Regions from separate parts of the Homo sapiens genome. Here regions 2 and 3 are each linked to region 1. The links are contacts of gene promoters, found by promoter capture Hi-C in blood cells and fetal thymus (Javierre and others, 2016). All regions are on one chromosome and are shown on one strand. Each heading gives the region's core, a stretch centred on a gene start or on the middle of the fragment in contact. The rest is flanking DNA. Distances are from core to core; before and after follow the strand shown.

What was found. The method cuts DNA at HindIII sites, captures the fragments that hold promoters and counts their contacts. A CHiCAGO score of 5 or more calls a contact.
Region 2: a contact is called between the fragment with the promoter of CFAP65 here and a fragment that was not itself captured in region 1, in 2 of 17 cell types (total CD8 T cells and total CD4 T cells). The highest score is 5.5, in total CD8 T cells.
Region 3: the fragment with the promoter of SLC4A3 here is called in contact with a fragment that was not itself captured in region 1 in 1 of 17 cell types (neutrophils); the score reaches 5.2 in neutrophils.

What each region holds. Positions count from the first base shown.
Region 1 is chr2:219,362,066-219,364,617 of GRCh38, reverse strand. LOC105373883 (a long non-coding RNA gene) reads left to right here. Exons shown (of 2, transcript XR_923917.3): 2 at 1,810-2,116. Among named protein-coding and RNA genes, the nearest start is that of DNPEP, 25 kb to the left of the region's middle. RefSeq lists an enhancer at 2,006-2,055. The HindIII fragment of the contact is 1,677 bases long and covers 443-2,119 here.
Region 2 is chr2:219,040,227-219,042,778 of GRCh38, reverse strand. It overlaps CFAP65 (cilia and flagella associated protein 65), which reads left to right and starts at 1,263. Exons shown (of 35, transcript NM_194302.4): 1 at 1,263-1,291; 2 at 2,215-2,260. The HindIII fragment of the contact is 30,940 bases long and covers 1-2,552 here.
Region 3 is chr2:219,626,355-219,628,906 of GRCh38, reverse strand. SLC4A3 (solute carrier family 4 member 3) reads right to left here and starts at 1,277. Exons shown (of 23, transcript NM_005070.4): 1 at 1,162-1,277; 2 at 864-1,007; 3 at 337-502. The coding sequence starts at 914. It overlaps LOC124908064 (a long non-coding RNA gene), which reads left to right and starts at 897. Exons shown (of 2, transcript XR_007088701.1): 1 at 897-967. RefSeq lists enhancers at 1-71, 72-774. The HindIII fragment of the contact is 16,254 bases long and covers 1-2,552 here.

The DNA of each region.
Region 1 (2,552 bases), core at 32-2,531:
CCTCCCAAAGCACTGGGATTAGGGGTGTGAGCCACTGCGCCCAGCCTGCCAACAATCTTAAAACTAATTTTATTTACCCAAAAGACTTAACAAGGCCCATGTGTTCAGATTCCTGTCTGTGTCCCCATCTTTGGAGGAAGGACACCTTTCACATGGGGAAAGGATCAGGGAGATCCCTTCAGGAGAGAAGGATCAGGGAAGTCAGAGAGATTGTCCTGCACATGCTGTTTCTCAGATCCTTCCAGCTTAAAATATTCAACATGCCAGTGTGCCATGTTTCTGGGTGGCATGTCCTGAACCCTCTTATTGGATAGTATAAATGGCTATTCACTCTGAAAATCTGTTGAGCTGTATCTTTACATTCTGTCTACTTCTGTTCATATGTATTACCTTTCATAATCAAAAGGTAAAAATACTTTTTTTAAAAAAAAGCATAAAAGCTTCTAAACACAAAAGTTGGTGTCAGAAATATTCTAAATGGAAAGAGGAAAAGAGTGGCTCCTAAGATGACTGGATTATTAGAAGTAAAGAAATGCCCTCCCTTCTTGCCCAATAAACTCCAGAAGCTCCCAGAGTGGCCCTAGGCGAGAAGAGATGAGAGGGAGGGTCAGCCGTGCTCTCCAGGGAAATCCCCTTGTTTTCCCCAGGCCAGCCCCAAAGGGGCACTAGTCTACACTGAACTCTCAACTTCCAGGCAATAGAGACCACCCTTTCTCTGCTGCTTTATTTGACAGCTTAGGAAAGACTGAAATGTTCAAACAAAAATGAACAACAACAGAAAGCCTTGACAAAGGAAAGCCAGATGCAGAGGACCATGGATCCACATATCCTAAATGCAAGGGAGAGCCTGCTCTCCAGGCTCCAGAGCCTTCCACTCATGGGCTACCCCAGGAATAATAGGGACTCCTCCCTGAGTCTCCCCACTCCTGACTCCAGGCTTTCCTCCCACAGCAGGTGACATTCCTAAGTTTGTATGCATGTGCCAGCACACATTTATATATACAAGTGCAATATGTACATAGTAATGCACACACATATTCTCAAACCTACACACATACACCTCACACACATACATAAACGTAACATATATACACCTACACACACATAAACAGACACATGCGGACTTACACATGGACATCTATACAGAAACACACACATGTAAGCATACATGCACACACACAACACAGGTGCACATGCACATACAATGTTTGCAAACATATACAGCCACAGGCATAGACACACATATACACCTGGATACATATACAAACCCATCACACATGCATACATATGCTCATTCACATACTACAAATACATACAAAAAGGCATACACATATATGCACACATGCACAACATACAAACACAGAGACATGCATGTAGGCATAATACATGCATGCATACTCGTGCGCAAAAAACACACATGTGCAATACACAGATACATATACATAAATGCATGCATACACATATGCAGACAATACATAGATACATGTCACACAAACATATTGCTATATATCCATATATACATATGCAAAAACATACACATATATACACAAACACACACATCTTTATGTACACACCCACAAACACACACCCCACATACCCACACGCACATACTGCATGTGATAGCCATCCTACAAGATGACCTCCAGTGATCCTTACCTCTTGGAATTCATGCCTTTGTGTAGTCCCTCCCACAGTGTATCAGGGTTGGTCTCTGTGGCCAGTATAATATGGCAGAAATGATGGCATGGGACTTCCAAAGCTAGGTTTTAAAAACACTGTGGCTTTTGCCTGGTTCTCTCTCTCTCTCAGGTCACTCACTCCAGAGGAAGCCAGCTGCTGTGTCATGAGGCACTCAAGCAGCCATATGGAGAGGCTGATGTGGTAGGGAACTGAGACCTCCTGCCAACAGCCAGCATCGTCTTGCCAGGAGGGTGAGTCATCTTGAAAGTGGATCCTCTAGCCCCACGCAAGCCTTCAGAAGACTACAGCCAACCCTGAGTAACATCTTCACTGCAACTTCAAGAGAGACCCTGAACCAAAAATACCCAGCTAAGCCTCTCTCAGATTCCCAGTCCACAGAAACTGTGAAATAGATGTTTATAGTTTAAGCGACTAAGCTTTGGGGTAATTTGTCATGTAGCAATAAGCCATAGATATTCTTTGCTAAAACTGGATTTTTAAAAAAAGTAATAGACAATGAATACAAGTACACTACATGTACACATATACACATTGACACACACATCCCATCTACATACACAAATACATCTCCCACACATACAAACCTACATACGCACACACAAACACACATGCATACAGTACACATTGATTCATACAAACACATGCACACACATATAAACACATGGACACAACACCCATGCACAAACATATAAACACATGTATACACATATAAACACATGTACGCATGCGCAAGTCCCGAGAACCCACTTCTAGAGTCTTTGGGCTCTTCACCATCTAGATGCCCACCTGGGGCTCCCCATAGAGCTCTGACCCATCTCGGAGGAGCTGCCTCTTCTCTCTCTTTTTTTTTT
Region 2 (2,552 bases), core at 14-2,513, 320 kb after region 1:
GAGCAGGCAAGAGCTCAGGAAGGAGACTCCCCGGTGAAGAGGCACGAGGACGCCTTTAGCATGAGCTGTGCTTCCTCCTTGGAGTTTTCCCACTGAGATTCCTGGGGCCAACACCAAACCCTGCCCCCAAAGTCCCTATTTCATTTTCGCCTAAGAATGAACCAGTTCCTTTCCTTGTCCTTAAGGTCCAGCTGAGTTAGGCTGACCATTTCAAAAAGAATTTGGGGAAAAACAAAAAGGAAATAATTATAGAAACTACAAACAGCATAAAAGTCGTCATGTCCAAAGTGCAGGTTTCAGATTCTGAGAATCCCATTAAATCCAGGGAAAAGCTCACTGAGTTCCACATTCTTTGATTCCCGGAAAACTCTTGATCCTGCTGGCGTAATTTACCAGGCGCCCTGCCTGCCCCTTCCCTCCAGCCCTGCCAGTCTCTGGCCATGTGATCTCCCAGGCCAGCTCAGGCCACTTTGCCATCTCAGTCCATCTTTCACCTTTCACAAGTCAACTCCAACTCTCCCAAAATGATAGCTTATTTTCTGTGTTTACCCCTAGACTCACTAAGCTCTCTCCCCCTAGTCACATCCCCCCTTCCATCTGAAAGGAAATAGGTTCACTGTCTTGAGGAGCAAAACATCCTTAGTTACCCAAGAGTGAACTTTGAGACTTTCAGCTTCACCTACTAAGGAGTCTTCACAAAATAGGACCCTTCCTCCAACACACATACCAACAAATGAACCAATGGGCTTCCGAAAGTCTACATTATGTATAATAATTCCTTTATACATTAACCTTCCGATCCCTTCAAAAGAGTTATTTTTCTTGTTGCTGACCAAGAAGAAATGCCGGGAGAAAACGCAGAGGACGCATTCCCTCTCATCAGCAAAAGGGTTCTATTTGCAAAGCAATATTCAAATAAGAAATAACTGCGGGCTGCTTTTAAGTTAACAATTGCAATCACAGAGAATGAGCTTCTGTCTCTATGCATGTCAGAGTGCCAAGCCCACAGAGTAGCTTCCTGTGAATTTGGTCGTCAATTAAAGTCATGATTGCTGGAACGTCACGACAACTAGGAGGCTCTACATTACCATGTCGCGACAGGTAGAAGCCCACAGTTACTACCAGCAGGAAAAGTCAGGGAATCAAAACTGAATATAGGAAATAAAATTGGGCGGTGCCTTCGCCTTCTACGAATCTTGACTTACTCGGGCTGCCGTCGTTGCCCTGGGATATCTGAAGACGCCGTTTCCTGCGCGTCCTGTATCTATGGAGACGGCAATATGGAGGCGATGTAAGTTCTGAGCGTTAGTCCCAAGGTCCCAGGGTCTCAGGGAGCGGCGCGAGTGGCCAGGGAAGGTATCTGTCCCGGGAGACCCTATCCTTCGGGAAATCGTGGCCAGAGGTCCCCTCCATGCCCTTCAGAGAGCCCCATGGGACTGAGTCTTGGGCGAGATCAATCAGACTAAGGATCCCGAAGAGAAAGAAGAAACAGCTCTAAGTGTATTTTGTCCCCCTTTGTTTCATCTATTTCTTTCTCCCTCGACTCTATACGACGACCTGCCACTTTTTCTAGTGGTCATCTTGGAGATTTTTAGATCAGCAATTAGGCAAATAAAGGAAGCTCATGATATATATTTTTTAAAGTCCTCGAAATTGGAAACTTCAATTTAAAACAAAACAAATCCAAAACAAAACAAAAAACCTCGCTTGCCCAGTCTCTTCACAACGACTGCAGATGTGTGAGTCTTTTGGAAGAATAGTGCAGGCTAGTGGGAAAGTTATGGTTGTTAATTACTATAACGTGTTTGTTTAGTGCTTTTTCAAATCCTCTGTTTCATTCGAGCTGCACATCGACTTTGTGAAATCGTCAGGATAACCCACATTTTACAGGCGAGGAGGCTGAGGCTCCGGGAGATGGAGAAATTTGCCTATCCCCGTAGAGTCTGAGAAGATGCTGGCACCCAGCGTCCCTTGCCCTGGGACCACTTCCCTAGCCCTATGACCTGTGTTGGACCAGCTTTCTACCCCATCATCTCTCATCTCTTCCATGCACTCTCTGGAATAGTTTCATGTGTTGAGTGGAGACTTTTTCAGAGCTCTGAGGCAGGAGCTGTCTGTACAGTCCCCTGAGGTCAGAGGCATTAATGAGTCAGGACAGGGCTGCAAGACCATCCCGTGGCAGAAAAGTAATGGACTCTCTCTGTGTCTCCTCAGCTTACATTTCTTTGATTTCATCTGAACGTCCAGTTCACAATTGGAGGTAGGAGCCTTGCCTGCCTTGTCTGGTGCCTAGCACAGTACCTGGTACATAATAGTAAGTGCTTTGTGAATGAACGAACGACTGAATCTAGATAGTCCCCTCCAGAGGGTTTAGACATGTTGCCAACTAGGAAAACCAGGGTCAACAGAATCTTCCGCTTTGGAAGGGTGTTGGTGGGTGGTGGGGGAGGGATAAGAGAGTGTCTGATGGAACTGTATAAATTCCTAAAGGGTGATCATGAAATTGTTTGCTAAATCTGAACACATTAAAATAAGGAACTAAACGACAAACT
Region 3 (2,552 bases), core at 28-2,527, 260 kb before region 1:
TACAGCAAGGAGGGGAAAGGCGGAGTTGGACTAGCCGAGGTGGGACAAGGAGGGAGTGAGTGGGGACGAAGGGGAAGGGGAAGGTCACCGTGGAAGGGCCCAGGCCCAGCTCCCTAGATCTCCCCTGGTCTGGGGCCCACCTCCCCAGGCAGGCGGACAGGCGATGGGTGGGGGAGGCAGGATGACTGAACACGGCATGTGGCCCAGCACAGAGTCCAGCACAGTGTCCGGCACAGGATGGCACTGGGTGACCAAGCCGGAGGTGAGCGCGGTGATGGTGGCGATGAAGGTGATGGTGGCGAGGGCGGCCGCACTAGGGGTCCCCAGGCTACCCACACTCAAAGTCCCGCTCGCTGTAGCTGCGGCTGGGCTTCTCGGGGTCCCAGGCCGGGGGCTTGCTGATGAGGTCCCCAAACCTGCTCACAGCCAAGGTCTTGCCCAAGTCATCGTCCTCCTCCTCCACGTCTGGACTTAGAGGGGGCTCCTCCAAGGGCACCCGGACCTGCAGGCCCAGACGGCCTCTGCTAAGGACCCCTGACCCATGAAGGCCCCACACCCACCCCAACTCCAAGCCCTAGTTGGGGGAGCTCAGCAGGCTCTCACACCATCGGGCCCCCTCCCCTTGCTCCCAGGCCTGTGTCAGCATCCCAGAAACCACCCTCTCTGGGCTCCCAGAGCTTGTAAAGAGAGAGGGCTACGGATCTGGAAAATATCAAAAACCCCCCTCTTTCTCCGTAACCCCCAGCCCAGCTCATCCCTGGATCTGGGGGGTCCCGGGGTCGGCCAGAGGACTCCTCTGCCCACCCTAAGGTCCCTCCCCTCTCCTCCCCCATCTCTCCCCCGCCCCCGCGCGCGCCGATCACCTGGGGTAGGGGGGAGGCGCCCCCGGGCGGCGGGATCACTCCGTTGGCCATGGCCAGGTAGGCGGCTGGGGACGCTCTCGCTCACTAGGGGACCCGAGACCCAGGTGAGAAGGAGGGGCCACTGAGGGGGCCTAGCGGGGAGCCCTGGGGGAGGAGGGCGGGGTCAGGTTCCTTGCGCTGGCGCCCCCCACCCGGGAGCCGGATGCACGCTCCCGGCCCAAGCGCCCCTCCGAGGCCCAGCCACGCCCGGGACAGCCCGGGTCCCCCGCCCTGCCCGGCGTGCCCCGCCCCGCGGTACCTCGGGGCTCCGGAGCCTGCGAGGCCCAGGCGGGCCGCCGCGCCCCATGTCCCCCGCGCTCTCTCCCGAGCGCAGCCGCGACTGCCGTCCGGCCTCTCGCAGCGCAGAGCCGGGCTGGCCGGGCGGACGCAGGCGCCGGAGCCCGCAGCCCGCGGCTCCACCTCCTCGCGCTCCGCTCCGCACCTCCGCCGCCGCCGCCGCCGCCGCCGCCGCCGCCGGGCCGCACAATGGGAGCGGGCGGGCCGTGACTCACCCCGCCCCGGCCGGCGCGGCCCCCACGCGCGGGCCCCGCAGCACCCCACCTGCCCGTGCGCCCCTTCTCCAGGCGCCCCACGCATCGCTGGGGGCTGGGGCGCGGCCCGATATTCCCACAATCCCCCAGATTCGCTCCCCAACCCTGCTTTTAGCCTCCCCTCCCCTCCAGAGCCCAGGAAGCCACCCCCTCCGCAGACACAGGCCCCTCCAGTCTTGGGAACGGAGCTCACAGACCCCTGGAAGCACCCACCACCTCCCCTTTCATTTCTACCACAGCCTTGCCTCTCAAAGGCCTGGCTTCTGTCGCCTGGCACCACCCAACGTTTGACCTTGACACAGTACCTCCCCTCCTCCCGCCTCAGCTTCCCCAGCTGTAGCGAGAGGGGCCTGCAATAGGGGTGTTCCAAAGTTCTATGCAACTCTAAGACTGTGTGGCTCCGTTTCCACATTTCCTCTCCCTTCTCCCCCTATCCCTGAGGTCACATCTCATTTTCCAAGGGCAAAAGGTCTTTCGAAGGAGCCACTGGACCCCAATCGGCCCCTATCCCGAGATCAATGAAACTGGACTTCTACACAGTGCGATGCCATAACAGCCCTGTGACCTTGGTACTTCACCGCGTCTGACCCCTGGCCTCATCTAGATCTCAGCTCAACCCAAGGAAAGATTTTCTGTGTGCATAGCCTTCCAAGGGGAAGGGAGCTAGGATCTGTTGGACGCCCACATTGTCTTGTGTGTGCTCACAGTCCTGTGCTAGGTTGGCCCTCTCCAGACTGGCTGCCTCGTCTCAGGCATAATAATAAGAGGAGCTGTTATGATTCCCATTTGGTCGGCAGAGGACAGTGGAGACTCAGGGAGGCTCGTTACCTGCCATGGTCACAGCTGGAAAGCAGGCTGCCGACAGGTTTGGGCATCATTATCCATGTATTGAAGTGACTCTCCAAGCCACAAACAAAATTTTTAACTGAAAGAGATGAACTGTCCTCCTAAGTCTCACATGGTGAGTCCCAAGGTGGGAATTCCTAGGGTGGGAATCAGCTATGCCTAGGCAGAGCACAGCTGTGCCCCAAAACTCAGAATGGGAGACCCAGCTGTTGGGAGTTGAGTAGTGTCCCCCAAAATTTATACGTTGAAGTCC